2 separate regions of the Homo sapiens genome follow, and region 2 is linked to region 1. The links are contacts of gene promoters, found by promoter capture Hi-C in blood cells and fetal thymus (Javierre and others, 2016). All regions are on one chromosome and are shown on one strand. The core of a region is centred on a gene start or on the middle of the fragment in contact, and the rest is flanking DNA. Distances in the headings are between cores, read along the strand shown. Region 1 holds the start of MAPKBP1 (mitogen-activated protein kinase binding protein 1). Region 2 holds the start of LOC105370943 (a long non-coding RNA gene).

Region 1 (6,071 bases), core at 3,193-5,692:
AGGAGGAGGACGATCTCAATACCTCCTTCAGTTACTTTTTAAAAATCTAGCAACCCTCCAGCACAGACAATCCTTTTGTAACCCTAACTTAAATCTTGCCTGCTGGGCTTTGGTCCATTTCTATCCTTTGTCCTTGAAAACAAGCCCAGCTCCCTCCACATAAAAATCTTTCAGAAACTTTCAGAGGAGGAGGGTTAGCTATCAAGAACACATACATTTGCTTCTTAAGGAAAACACAGCCCAACTTAGAGATGAGAGGCAGGAAATGACAAGTCTACAGGATTTGAACTTGGGTATTTACTGATAACTTCAAGTCACACTTCACCAAGACTAAGCTGATTTAGCATAAAACTTTAAATCAGTCTTTTCCAATGTACTCCACTGAAGAGACTCCCCTCCCTCTGAAAAAGCTTAATAAAAATCTCAGCACTCATCTACTCTTTGATGTAACTTAAATCTCCACCTCCACTGGCTCTCTCACACCAGCTTTTAGCCATATTTTTAACTAGGTCTCCCCTGAATTAAGAACCCTTTACTGAGCACTGCTTTCTGCATACGTGGACTTCTTCTCTCTTATGTTCTTCACACCTAATTAGGCTGCATCTCTACTTCTTTGTCACCATTTTATTAATCGTAGTTTTGATCTCTCTTCTAAAGAGGTCATAAATTCCTCCTGATTATTTTATTCACCTGGATGTCCAAGTTTATCCCGCACTATATTTGACATCTTTAAATTAGTCTCATTTATTTTTTTTAGTACTTACTGCCTATCTTACACTGTCCTAAACGGTGTGATGTAAAGGAAATAAAGAGCATGACCCCGATCCTTAGGAAATGAAGACATACATAAAATAACAATAAGATATTGGTTTCAAGGTGGGGGACTAGTCACAGAAAGCCCTGTGGCTCTGATAAATACAGAATTGGACCTAAAAATAAGTGTACAATTTGGTGTAAAGGAGAAGGCTACTTTAGATAGAAAGAACAGTATAATTCAAAGCAGGAGGCCATCTGAAGTAAGAGCTGCATAAAAGCTTTCTGACATTTCCTTCTTTGCCCCCCAAAAGGGGCATGTACCTTTTTGTCTTCAAATTTTATTTGAGAATTAGCTATCCATGAATCACAAATTTCCTGTTATCATGATTACTCACAGCCACCACATGTTAGAGCAACTCACAGAGCTTAATACACTAGAGTAATCACAAGGCAGGCTTTTAGAATAATCTCAGGTAGAGACCTTTTACTAAGGAGTGTGGGGAGTCTGGCATCTCTAGGGTCCTGGGCGCACAAAGACAGCTACTCCTCTTGGGTGCTAAAGATATGCACCAGTCATTTTGCTGCCAGACCATTCAAGGGTCATTCAACTTCAGCTAAGTATTTCTTTCATACACAGCTTCAGGACAGACAAAGCCATCTAAAGCAGTCTGAAGCACTGAATTCCTATTTTAAACAGGGAATGGTAAATGGTCTTGCCAGGGATGCCCCTTTTCCACTGTTTTCCTGGAGAGCTCTTCTCCACCTGCCTTAGGACTCACAGTTCAAGCATCCCTTCCTCTGTGAAGCCTTTCCTTTTTTTTTTTTTTTTGAGACGGAGTCTTGCTCTGTTACCCAGGCTAGAGTGCACTGGCAGGATCTGAGCTCACTGCAACCTCAGCCTCCCGGGTTCAGGCGAGTCTCCTGCCTCAGCCTCCCGAGTAGCTGGGATTACAGACATGCACCACCACGCCCGGCTAATTTTTGTATTTTTAGTAGAGATGAGGTTTCACCATCTTGACCAGGCTGGTTTCGAACTCCTGACCTAGTGATCCATCCGCCTTGGCCTCCCAAAGTGCTGGGATTACAGGGGTGAGCCACCATGCCTGGCCTGTGAAGCCTTTCCTAATTCCTCTGAACTGACTTAGGTCGCCTCCCCTGTGCTTCCATTAACAACGTACACATACTTCTACAGCAGCACTTACCACACCGTGTTTTAATTGTTTACATGTCTGACTAGCCATAAGCTCTTTGATGGCAAGGGTAATGTTTTACCCATCACTGATTGCACACTTCATAGGCACTCAATAAACACTTGTTAAATGCATTAATAATGGATGATATTGGAAGTCTTAAAGAATGGCAACTATACTTTCTGGATTCCAGACCAAAATTACAGTAAGAATTAACAATGAAGGCTAAACTCTCATTATATGTTTCTACTACATATATCATTCCTGGCCAGAAAAAGAGGCCAAAGATTGGAGAAGATTGCTCTAACAGTGCTGGTCACTGCCAAGCTACCAGCCAAGAATAAGAGCACTTGCAGTATTAAGAATGAACAGAGTCATATCTAAGGCAATTTCTACATTTCAGGCTTCTTTGCCTGCCTCAGGAGAATAGAAACAATGATGAATAAGAGACCTTGGAAGGGTCACAATGTCCACCATCACAAAACCTTGTAGCAAACTGTGATTCAACACAACTTCTGCTGAAATATACAGGAAAGCTCTTCACCTTCTTACCAAATCTACTCAAAGTTCTGCTAAGGAACACAGGGCTGAACTAAGTCCTCCCAGAACCCTGCCATTTGTACAGTGGCATTCTAAATCATTCCTCATGGGATTTACTCATCACTGAAGAGATACAGGCAAAGCAATACAATGCTGTGGTCTCAAATGCCTCTCCCTGTAACAACCTTGTACCTCACAACCCTATTGGGTTTACAGGCTACTAATAAGACACAAAATCTGATCTGATCCTGTGGGAGTAAAGCCCTGGATTCCCTCAAGGGATTAAATAAATGTCGACTACTTCTGGATTCCCAAAGTTGTGGGGTTTATTTAGTTGAAAAAGCATAAGGACCAAAACACAGACAAGTGAAGCGATGGAAAGGAACTTTGCCTCTGAGGATCATCTGCAGCTGAGTGGGATGTGGCTCTTGGCATATAGTGAATGAGATAAGCAATGCTCAAGGGCCATCCAGAACTGTTTTGCTGACAGATATCTGGCTTCTTGCATGTTATTCCTAAGAAGCCAAAAGGCTCCAGTTAGCCTCTTGAAGAGACAAAAAAAATTTGTTTTCACCGTAGGCAAGAGCAATTACCAAGCCAGTAACTCTGACTAGGTGTTTTAGCATATTTCTTTCTGCCACTACAGTCTTACATAACCCCAGCTGTTACGTTAACACCTGCAGCTACATTAGTCACAGCTTAGCCCTTCACAAGGTATGTGTTCCTACTGTCCTCTCCCAAGAAGGGAAACTGAGTCATAGCATATCAACTGGCTTCCCAAGCACATGCTTAGTGTATAGTGAGGCCACAATTGAACCCAGGTGGTCTTCCTACTATTCACCTTTTCTCATGGATGAATCTCAGCATGCCCACCCCTGCTGCTCTTTTTCCTTCAACCTAAAACCAAATCATTGCCTGCAGAGATCATATGTGATCCTTTAGAGTCAACAAGGGCTTCTAGTTATCTTTCCCAAGAAACAGGAAGGTTAACGAGGAACATGGAGCAGGAGAGGGTGGGTTTGGAAAGAGGTGGATCCCAACAGGACTCACCTTGGAGCTGAGGTCCTCTCGTCGGTTTCCTGCCTTACTCCTGCGCAGTTTGATGGATGGAGATCTCAACAGATTCTTGATCCGGCTGGTAATGGTTGACCCTTCCACAGCCATTATGACGAGAAACCCTTTGGGACAGTCCCCGGCCCAGTCCTGGGTCTTGTCTCAACAGCGGCACTGTCTTCCCACTCCAGAGGGCTTCCCAGTATGCCCTCTCACTGACCTGAGATGGCAGAAGCCACCTTAGTATCACAGTGTCTTACCTTCTGCCTAGCGAAGTCTGCAGCTTTTACCTCTGGGTATTGCTCTCACCATTTCCCTCATCCCCACCTTCTAGCCCTGCACAGTTTCTTACAACGTCGGAAGGAAAGGCTCACGAAAAAGGGGGGGAAAATCCTAAGCCACGAAGAAATGCCAGGCCCACGCCCGCCAGAGGCGTTTAACTGGCGAGATGGATGGGATGGGCCCCAGTTGGTCTCGTGGACGATCTGGTTCCCGTTAATGCCCAACTGTTCCCATGGCAACTGTAGTGTCCAAGGGAGGAGGCCGCCGAGACCACCAGGGATTTCCGCAGGCCTGGACACCTGCGCTAGCGCCGGCGGGGACGCGGCGGGGCTCGCCGTAGCCCACAACTCGTTCTGCCACGGGAGCCTCCCTCCCCCACTCCCTATCCTCCAGAGCTCGCTCTCCGCCCTCCACAGCGGCTCTGGACCTTTATCTTTCACCCGCCTCTGAGGCCCCTGCTACTCGTCAGCGCCCCCGTTCGGGCCCAGCCTCACCAGCCTCGGCGAGCTAAGGCCACCCCGCTCACAGCGCCCTCGGGCATCGCGTTCGGCAATTTCAGCTCCGCCGCGGTAGCCGCAGCGGTAGAGGCAGCAGCAGGAGCTATGGTGGCACGATCGGCTCAAAACGCGAACTACCGCCTGGGCCAAGCCGCGGGCTGGGTGGGCGGAGCCGACGCGAGGGGCGCGGCCTGTAGTCAGGAGAGCGCTTCCAGAGTGGACGAGCAAGGTTTACGGGGGCGGAGCCAATGAAAGGGCCCAGGAAGCAGACGGCTTGGGACTAGGGAACCACGGAATCCGCACAATTGCGGGTACCGCTTTTAGAGGAAGGTCAACAGAACATGGCTTCAGAATTGAGAGAACCAAGCCTTTTATGGTATTATCAGGCCTGGTCCCCCATGGAACTGCACTTCCCAGAGCCCCAAGACGATAACCACGCCTCCAGGGTGTTAAGGTTGTCATCTGATAGGCCCGAGGGACCGTAGCTGAAACTCCTAGCTCAGAATTACAAGACTGAGCTACAGCCTAAAAGCTCTGCTCCCAGCGACCACAAGTGTTGAGATTTAAAGCGACTGAAGTAGTTTCTGCTCGCAGCCAGTCCGGCACGTAGACTCAACGTGGAAAGGATTATTCTGAGTAATGCAATTTAATAGCTAAGAACAGTATTTTTGCACTGGGCAACCTGGTCATCATGAAAGGGGAAAGGGTGGCCTTGAACAGAGCTTTGGGCGTGCGGGGGAAAGAGAAGTGAATATGCTATGTTATAATACTTTAGGTTTCATGGCTTCTTTAGCCTCCAACATCCCATTGTGCTTCCTCACCTAAAGCTGACCAGGACTTTGTTGCTCCAGATCTTTTCCTCATTCCATTTACTTATGAATCCTTTTATCTAGGGCTGTTCCTTGCTGAGGTCACTGTCGAGCTTGCTGATACTAGATCGAGGGGTAGTTTTCTAACTCATGTCGGGGGAGGCAGAGGGAATACACGGAAATGTTACATGAAATAGTATTTCCTGAGTATTCTCCACTTGACTACTACCACAAGAAATCACCTTATGAAAAAGCCTAAGCCAGAGACTTGGGTCCCAAGGGAATAGTACACTGGTGTGTCCGTCTCACCCTATCCAGATCTTTTGAATCCCTGTGGAGATGACATGTGTCTGCAAGAGGGAAGAACCTCTAACAAATTATTATACCTTATGAAAAAGCCTAAGCCAAAGACAAGGGACCCAAGGGAGTACTACACTGGTGTGTCTGTCTCACCCTATCCAGATCTTTTGAAACCCTGTGGAGATGACATGTGATAACAAGAGGGAAGAACCCCTAAACTCATTGCTTGTGTACAACGGTGAGCCTTTAGAGCCAAGTGGCAAAGCACATATTTTCTTGTGTATACTGTAGCCACGTACTGAAAATTAGATTTGTAAAGCTCACAAGTTGACATGGAGATGATGGATGTCACCTCCTGGAGACCAACTGGCAATAGCACGTGGCCTTCTTCCCTTCAACCATGCACTGCAAATATTATGAAACAGAAAATACGATTTTCAAATTTATTTCCCAAGTCTGGAAGAAGAAGGCAAGAACCATTAGCTACAATATGCAAGAGGTAGTTGGTTCCTTCAACCTCTTGGTAGTTACATGATGGGACCTCTCCATGGGATTGAAAGCTAATAAATGGTGCCACCTGGTGTCTTTACTTGCATGCTGCAGACCACGGCAGATGCCATCTCCACCCATGAAACTAGAGTAAA
Region 2 (6,071 bases), core at 2,924-5,423, 870 kb after region 1:
GACTGGTAACGCATCCTTGCCTTCCAGAGCAGAGGAGGCCCAGGGAAGGTTGGGACAAGTCAGCCGGAGCAGGAGAGGCAGGGGCAGACAGGTCTGGCCCGGGGCAGACTCGCTAAGAACACACTCCCACCTCTTTGTGCCTTTCTACTTATTATTAACAATCACAACGCCTGCTTCTTGAGTTCTCACAGTACGTCTGGTGCGAGGCCCTTGAGAATATGTTTTCTTATTTAATCCCAACAATAGCCAGGTGGTAGGTACGATAATAGTCTCTAATTTATAGATGAGGAAATTGAGGTTCAGAAAGGTTAAGCAATTTGTCAAGGTCAAACAGCTTGTAAGTGACATAGCAGAAATTCCAGATCAAAAACTCTTTCCACCAAGGCGGGTAGGAGATGAGCTAGCTGGTGAAACTCTGAGCCCCTCAGATGGTGGGGAAACTGAGTCCCTTAGGTGTTAAGGGGACTTTCCCAGGCTTCTGGTGTTAGTCAAAGAGATTGCCGGGAACAGAACCCATCTGTTCTAGCCCTAACCACTAGACCACACGGCTTCTCCATGGCTTCAGCTGGGAAGGTCCAAAGAGAAACTCCCTTTCTAGCCCCAGTGTGGAGTGTAGACTCTTCCCCAGCTAACACGGTTATCCCTGCGGAGGCCAGGCTGGGCCAGGGTGCAGTGGGGGATGCTGGGGGGTTTCTGCCCACACATATGGTTTCCAGATTCCAGGGGATGAAAAGGAGGCCCTTAGGGGCGGAAATGGGGGATGTGTGATGACAAATTTAGACTGATTGCTTAAAAAAAAAAAAAGAAGCCAAGAAACCCTATAAAATAAAAGCAGAAATTCCACTAGAAAACCAGAGGGAGTTATTTGATTGTGAAACTGAGTGCCACGAGGCGTGCATAGTTTAATGTGGAACAATATCTAGGGTTCTTCCAACTTTGACTGTTCAGAGGATGCCGGGGAGGGAAGGAGGCTCTGTCTGCTGTTCCTGCTTCACCTGCTGGGGCCTGGGACAGGGAGCTAGTCGGGAAGGACACCTGGGAGGATGTCTGGAGTCGGGGCACTTGCAAGCGTCCTGCCGGCTGTGGCCAAGGATCCACACTGGCTCACATGGAGAGCGGCCCAGTGGAGGCTCCAGCTGGTCCGCACTGAGAGCATGGGGAAGGATGAGCTGGAAGCTGGGGGTTTGGGGTATCTCTGAGTTCCAGCCTTAGAGGGAAAGACCAGGAACAAAAGGTAAAAGAGAGAACATCTGCCTGGTATTCTGGTCGGCAGCAGGCCCAAGGGGTCAAAGGTCAAGGGGAGGACAAGGGGGACTTCCTGAAGCTCCCGGGAGAGTGCCAGCCAGGCCGACTGTTGTGCAAGTTCTGGGCTGGCCTGCGAGGGCAGGCTGGCAGAGGAGTCATGCCTGATCAGCGGCCAGCATGGTGTCTGCCCAGCCCTCTTGGCCTGTCCTATGAGACTCCTGGAGCTGGAGTAGTGCCCTGTCTCCTTTCCTTCAGGGAACCAGGACCCCCATCCCAAGGAAGCACTCTTGTCCCACCTGTGGCCATATTCTACATGCCTGTGGGCTTCCTCTCATTCTCATCCTGAACCTCTTTTCCTTAGAATCGCCATTGTTCAAGAAACCAGAAAAACCTACTCAAGCAAGCTTCTTTCTTCCAATTCCACTCTGATATCTGAAGAAGTCAGAGGGCCTTGTGAGGGATGAGCTGGGACAGGTCTCAGGGTCCTACGCCTACAGAAAGGAGGTGCAGAGTAAAAGGGAAGAGGGGCAAGTGCCCAGGGCTGCTTGGGCGCCAGGCCCTGGGCTACCTTGACAGATGGGCGGCACCGCTCTCATTTCAGCCTCACAAGAGCCTTTCCAGGTCTGTAACAGTTATTCACATTTTACAGGAGAAGAAATTGAGTTTCCAAGGGCTTGATTAGCCTGATGCTGGTAATGGCAGAGCAGAGACTTGCACTTGCTCTTTACAGATTATGTCCTTGTTCCTCGGTTCAACCCATTTTGGCTGGAGATGGAAAATGAGTATAAAGAAGGACCTAGGATGGTGCCCTGCTCACGACCAGCATGGGAACACAGTTAATCAAGGCTGAATCTCACGGACAGGGGCAGGATCCAGGATGGAGCCTCCTGTTAGCTACCAATTTGTCTTCTGCAATTCAGCAGCTGTAAAGTCAGGAGGTGGGATCAGCAGCACAATGTCTTTCAAACTCGGTTCCTGGGCATCCTGGCATCTTATGGATATCGTGATAGGGGGCCGGGCACAGTGGCTCATGCCTGTAATCCGGACACCCTAGGAGGCTGAGGTGGGAGGACTGCTTGAAGTCAGGAGTTCAAGACCAGCCTTGGCAACCTAGCAAGACCCCCGTCACTACAAAAAATAGAAATAAAAATTAGCCAGGTGTGGTGTCTGTAGTCCTTGCTACTCAGGAGCCTGGGGTGGGAGGATCACTTGAGATCAGGAATTAAAGGCTGCAGTGAGCTATGATGGCGCCACTGCACTCCAGCCTAGGCAATAGAACAAGGTGTTGTTTCTATTAAAAAAAAAAAAAAAAAACAGAGAGAGAGACATTGAGATAGGAGTGGAGAACAGGCTGAGTGAACAGGAGTGTGGGTCCCTCCAGCCCAGTTTCCATCGGAGAATCTCAGCATACCAATTTCAAGTACTGGACATTCATGAATGTTTTTATTTGAACAAGGCTTCCACAGCACTTTATAGTCTCTATCTGAGGTCTCTGCAGCTCTGGCCTGCTGGGAGTTGTGAACGGTTTAGGTCCTGGCCTGGGAAGAGAAACCAGAGGACCTGGTAAAGGAAGTAGGGTTCACCTTCTAGCCCTGTGGAGATGCCGCGAGGGAACAGGTCAAGGGTCAGAGCTGGGAGATCATGCCATGGAGGGAAGGTGAGCTGCAGCCACCTGCCTCTGCACCTGGCAAACACAAACAGACCTTTGGCCACAGCAGCCTGGGAACCAGAAGCAGCAGCCACCTTCCGGGGGGCCAGACCAGTGCCCCTTTCCCTTTTCTCTGCCCAAGCTTATTCTCAGTGGACATGGGTTGCTGGCCACCAAACTAAGGCCGCGCAGCCTCTCCTGACCTCACGGTATGGTTTCTGACTGCTCAGTAAGGGCTGGTTCAAGGTGAAAGCTGAGCCACGGTAAAGCTGCTCAGGGAGAGGAAAGCACCCAATTACTGGGCATTCAGAGAGTGGGGCCAATCCCCTTGAAATGACAACCCTATTTTGTGACCCTTTTATTGGCCATCCTGGACCAAAGTTTGCCCCTCTGCCTCAGTTTTCCTTTTGGGAATCCAGGCATGAGAATGGTGGCCCTCTCCTGGTGGCTTCAGCACGTATGGCTCCCTGAATATCATCTCCATGCTCCAGGTGGAGGAGAAAGCTGAGGGCTCCAGCTGCCCAAGCACCAGAACTTTCTAGCATCCTCCTATCCCAGTGCCCGCCCCAGGCCTGCCTCTGACCACCATTCACCCTCAACCTGCTGCAGGGCCCAGCCTCACCCCACATAAGCAAAGCTGCCAGCAGCGTCCTTTGTGGTGCTGCTCCCGTGTGGCACTGCCTAGGGGCCCCACCATGGGGCAACAGATGGACCTATGGTCTCTCCAGAACAATGGTGGGGGAGGGGCCCTGGCATCGCCCGCCCCAAACAGGAAGCGCTGCATGAGCTTCAAAGGGCTGGCAGGGCCAAGGGGCTGAGTGGGGGAGCCAGTGCCAGGACTGGCGGCTGCCTGAAGAGATGCCTGCCAGCCTCGGGATGCCCAGCCTGGTGGTGGAGGTGGGGCTGTGGTGGCCAGGGCAGCTGGCTCTTGAGCAGAAGATGTCTGGCACCCTGAGGACAGCAGCCTGTAACCTGGGAGCAGGTTAAGGAAAGAGGGCATGGAGTTTGCTGTTTCCCGGTTCAACTGCCACTCGCCAGCGGGGCTGCAGGTTCTTTCCCAGGCCGCGGTTGGCCTGGCCCTCCGGCAAGTAAGCATGAGGGGCAGGGCTGGCACCAAGCCCGCCGCCCACTCCCTGCCTCCTGCTCCCAGCTGCTCCGCTCAGAGCCTTTTCCTCTCCACTTCCTGTTCACACAGGGGGGGGCGGGAAGTGGAGGGAGGAAGTTGGGGGGAGGCGTGTAGGGGGGACCCATTGAATAAAAGGAATTAACCGTTTCCCTCCTCTGACCTCTGGGAATTTCCGCCTGTGAAAGTGTCTCGAAGAATCAGTAGGGCTGGGGGAGTGGAGGGGAACTGCGCCCCCTCTTGGTCCCCTTCCCCCACCCGGTGGCGGTGGGGCCAGATAACTCCCTCTGGGCCCCTAACCTTTGTTTCCCTGGCGCCAGGGGGCAGCGCCAAGTGCGGCCTGGAGCCTGATGGCCTCGAGCCCCCTCCCAACCTTTGGGGTGGGTGCCAGGCACCAGCCTGCGACCCGAGCCTTTGGGGGAGGGGCAGGAACTAGAACTGGTGGTCTCGGGGGAATGAGCTCACATCCGAGCTGGCCACGCTGAGCCCTGTGCCCTCTCCAGGGCTGGTGCCCTTGGCCAGTCGGCCGCGGTGACAGGAGAAGGGAGGGAGAGGCCGGGCAGGCAGGGCCTGGGACTCTGGGCCGGCACACCCTCCGGCGGCCACACCCCCAGGAGCCAGGGTAGGGAGCGGTGGGCTCGGGAAGCCGGTAGACGGCGCCCCCTAGTGCCCACTGCAGACTCGGCGGGGCGGCCCCCAGGGCCCTCTCCAGGGCGGGCCTCAGGAAGCACCTGCTCCCCAGGACCAGTGGCCGCCCTGCGTCTCCCCCAGGTGGCTTCCTTGTTTACAGGCCTCCTGCCCTGGTCCCAGCGTCACTGCCTGTGGCCACTCCTTCTATTTCCAGTGACCGCTCCAGGAGTAGCTCATTCATCTTGGCCCCTGCCCACGCAGCTGCTCCCCCACCCCACCCCCCTCTGGCCCTCCAGGCTTAGGGCCAAAGCCCTGAGGGCCTCCGCTCTGCTCTCCATTCCATGTCTTGCTTGGCTTCCAGGGATCTAAGAGCTGTGGCTTCCCGTTGCCCTGACTCACCGGAACCCTATTCTGTCCCTGCCAGGGAAGCCTGGGGCCTTTTCCCAGGAAAGAGGAAGCAGCCTAGGACCAGATGGGCTGGCTTAGGAGAAGACAGAAGGGGCAGGGGTGTCCCAAGCTGCTTTAGCCAAGCCCTCTGGGAGCAGGGAGCAATAGGGCAGTGTTTGTTTAACTAACAAGTATTAGGCACCCATTATGTGCAAAGACAGAGGCCCCAGTCTGTTTTCTCTAAGAAAGTGACCCCTTCAGAGGTAGGCTAAAGCTTTATACTCACTGTCAGGGGACAAAGACCCTGAGCCCTCAGATGACTATGGTAGGTGTAAGGGGAGCCTAGGCCACATGGGGAGAAGGAAGCAGGAGCCCTCCAAACCTCCTGGGACAGTGCGAAGAACAGAATTAGGATGCCCTCTACTCAATGGGACCCCTCCCCCACATCTGCTCCCACTTCTGCTTCTGGAGGAAGACGGGAGTCTGAGGGGTCATCAAAAATGGGCAGCTTCCAGCCCTCTCAGCTAACAGAGTCCATGAAGAGATCCTCTTGTTTTAGTGGTTAGGGAATTCTGCAGCAAAGTTCAACCTGTATTGCCAGAGATAAAATTCTTTAAAAAAAAAAGGCGGAGGGGTTCTAGCTGGGCACAGTGGCTCATGCCTGTAATCCTAGCACTTTGGGAGGCTGAGGCAGGCGGATCACTTGAGGTCAGGAGTTCGAGACCAGCCTGGCCAACATGGTGAAACCCCGTCTCTACTAAAAATAAAAAAAGTAGCCAGGCGTGGTGATGTGCACCTGTAATCCCAGCTGCTAGGGAGGCTGCGGCAGGAGAATCCTTGAACCCGGAAGGCGGAGGTTGCAGTGAGCCAAGATTGTACCACTGCACTCCAGCCTGGTGACAGAGCAAGACGCCATCTCAAAAAAAAAAAAGAGGGTTCTTGCTCTGTCACCCAGGTGAAGTGCAGTGGCACAATCATAATTCACTGCAGCTTCCATCTCTTGGGCTCAAGCCATCCTCCTTCCTCAGACTCCCAAGT

The links. The method cuts DNA at HindIII sites, captures the fragments that hold promoters and counts their contacts. A CHiCAGO score of 5 or more calls a contact.
Region 2: a contact is called between a fragment that was not itself captured here and the fragment with the promoter of MAPKBP1 in region 1, in 1 of 17 cell types (neutrophils). The highest score is 6.9, in neutrophils.

Annotation. Positions count from the first base shown.
Region 1 is chr15:41,772,855-41,778,925 of GRCh38, reverse strand. MAPKBP1 (mitogen-activated protein kinase binding protein 1) reads right to left here and starts at 4,442. Exons shown (of 31, transcript NM_014994.3): 1 at 4,316-4,442; 2 at 3,537-3,759. The coding sequence starts at 3,650. RefSeq lists an enhancer at 4,946-4,995. The HindIII fragment of the contact is 7,491 bases long and covers 1,037-6,071 here.
Region 2 is chr15:40,905,131-40,911,201 of GRCh38, reverse strand. It overlaps LOC105370943 (a long non-coding RNA gene), which reads right to left and starts at 4,393. Exons shown (of 2, transcript NR_135836.1): 1 at 4,317-4,393; 2 at 1,851-2,373. RefSeq lists enhancers at 3,418-3,547, 4,737-5,031 and silencers at 3,758-3,817, 4,468-4,807, 4,737-5,031. The HindIII fragment of the contact is 2,272 bases long and covers 3,038-5,309 here.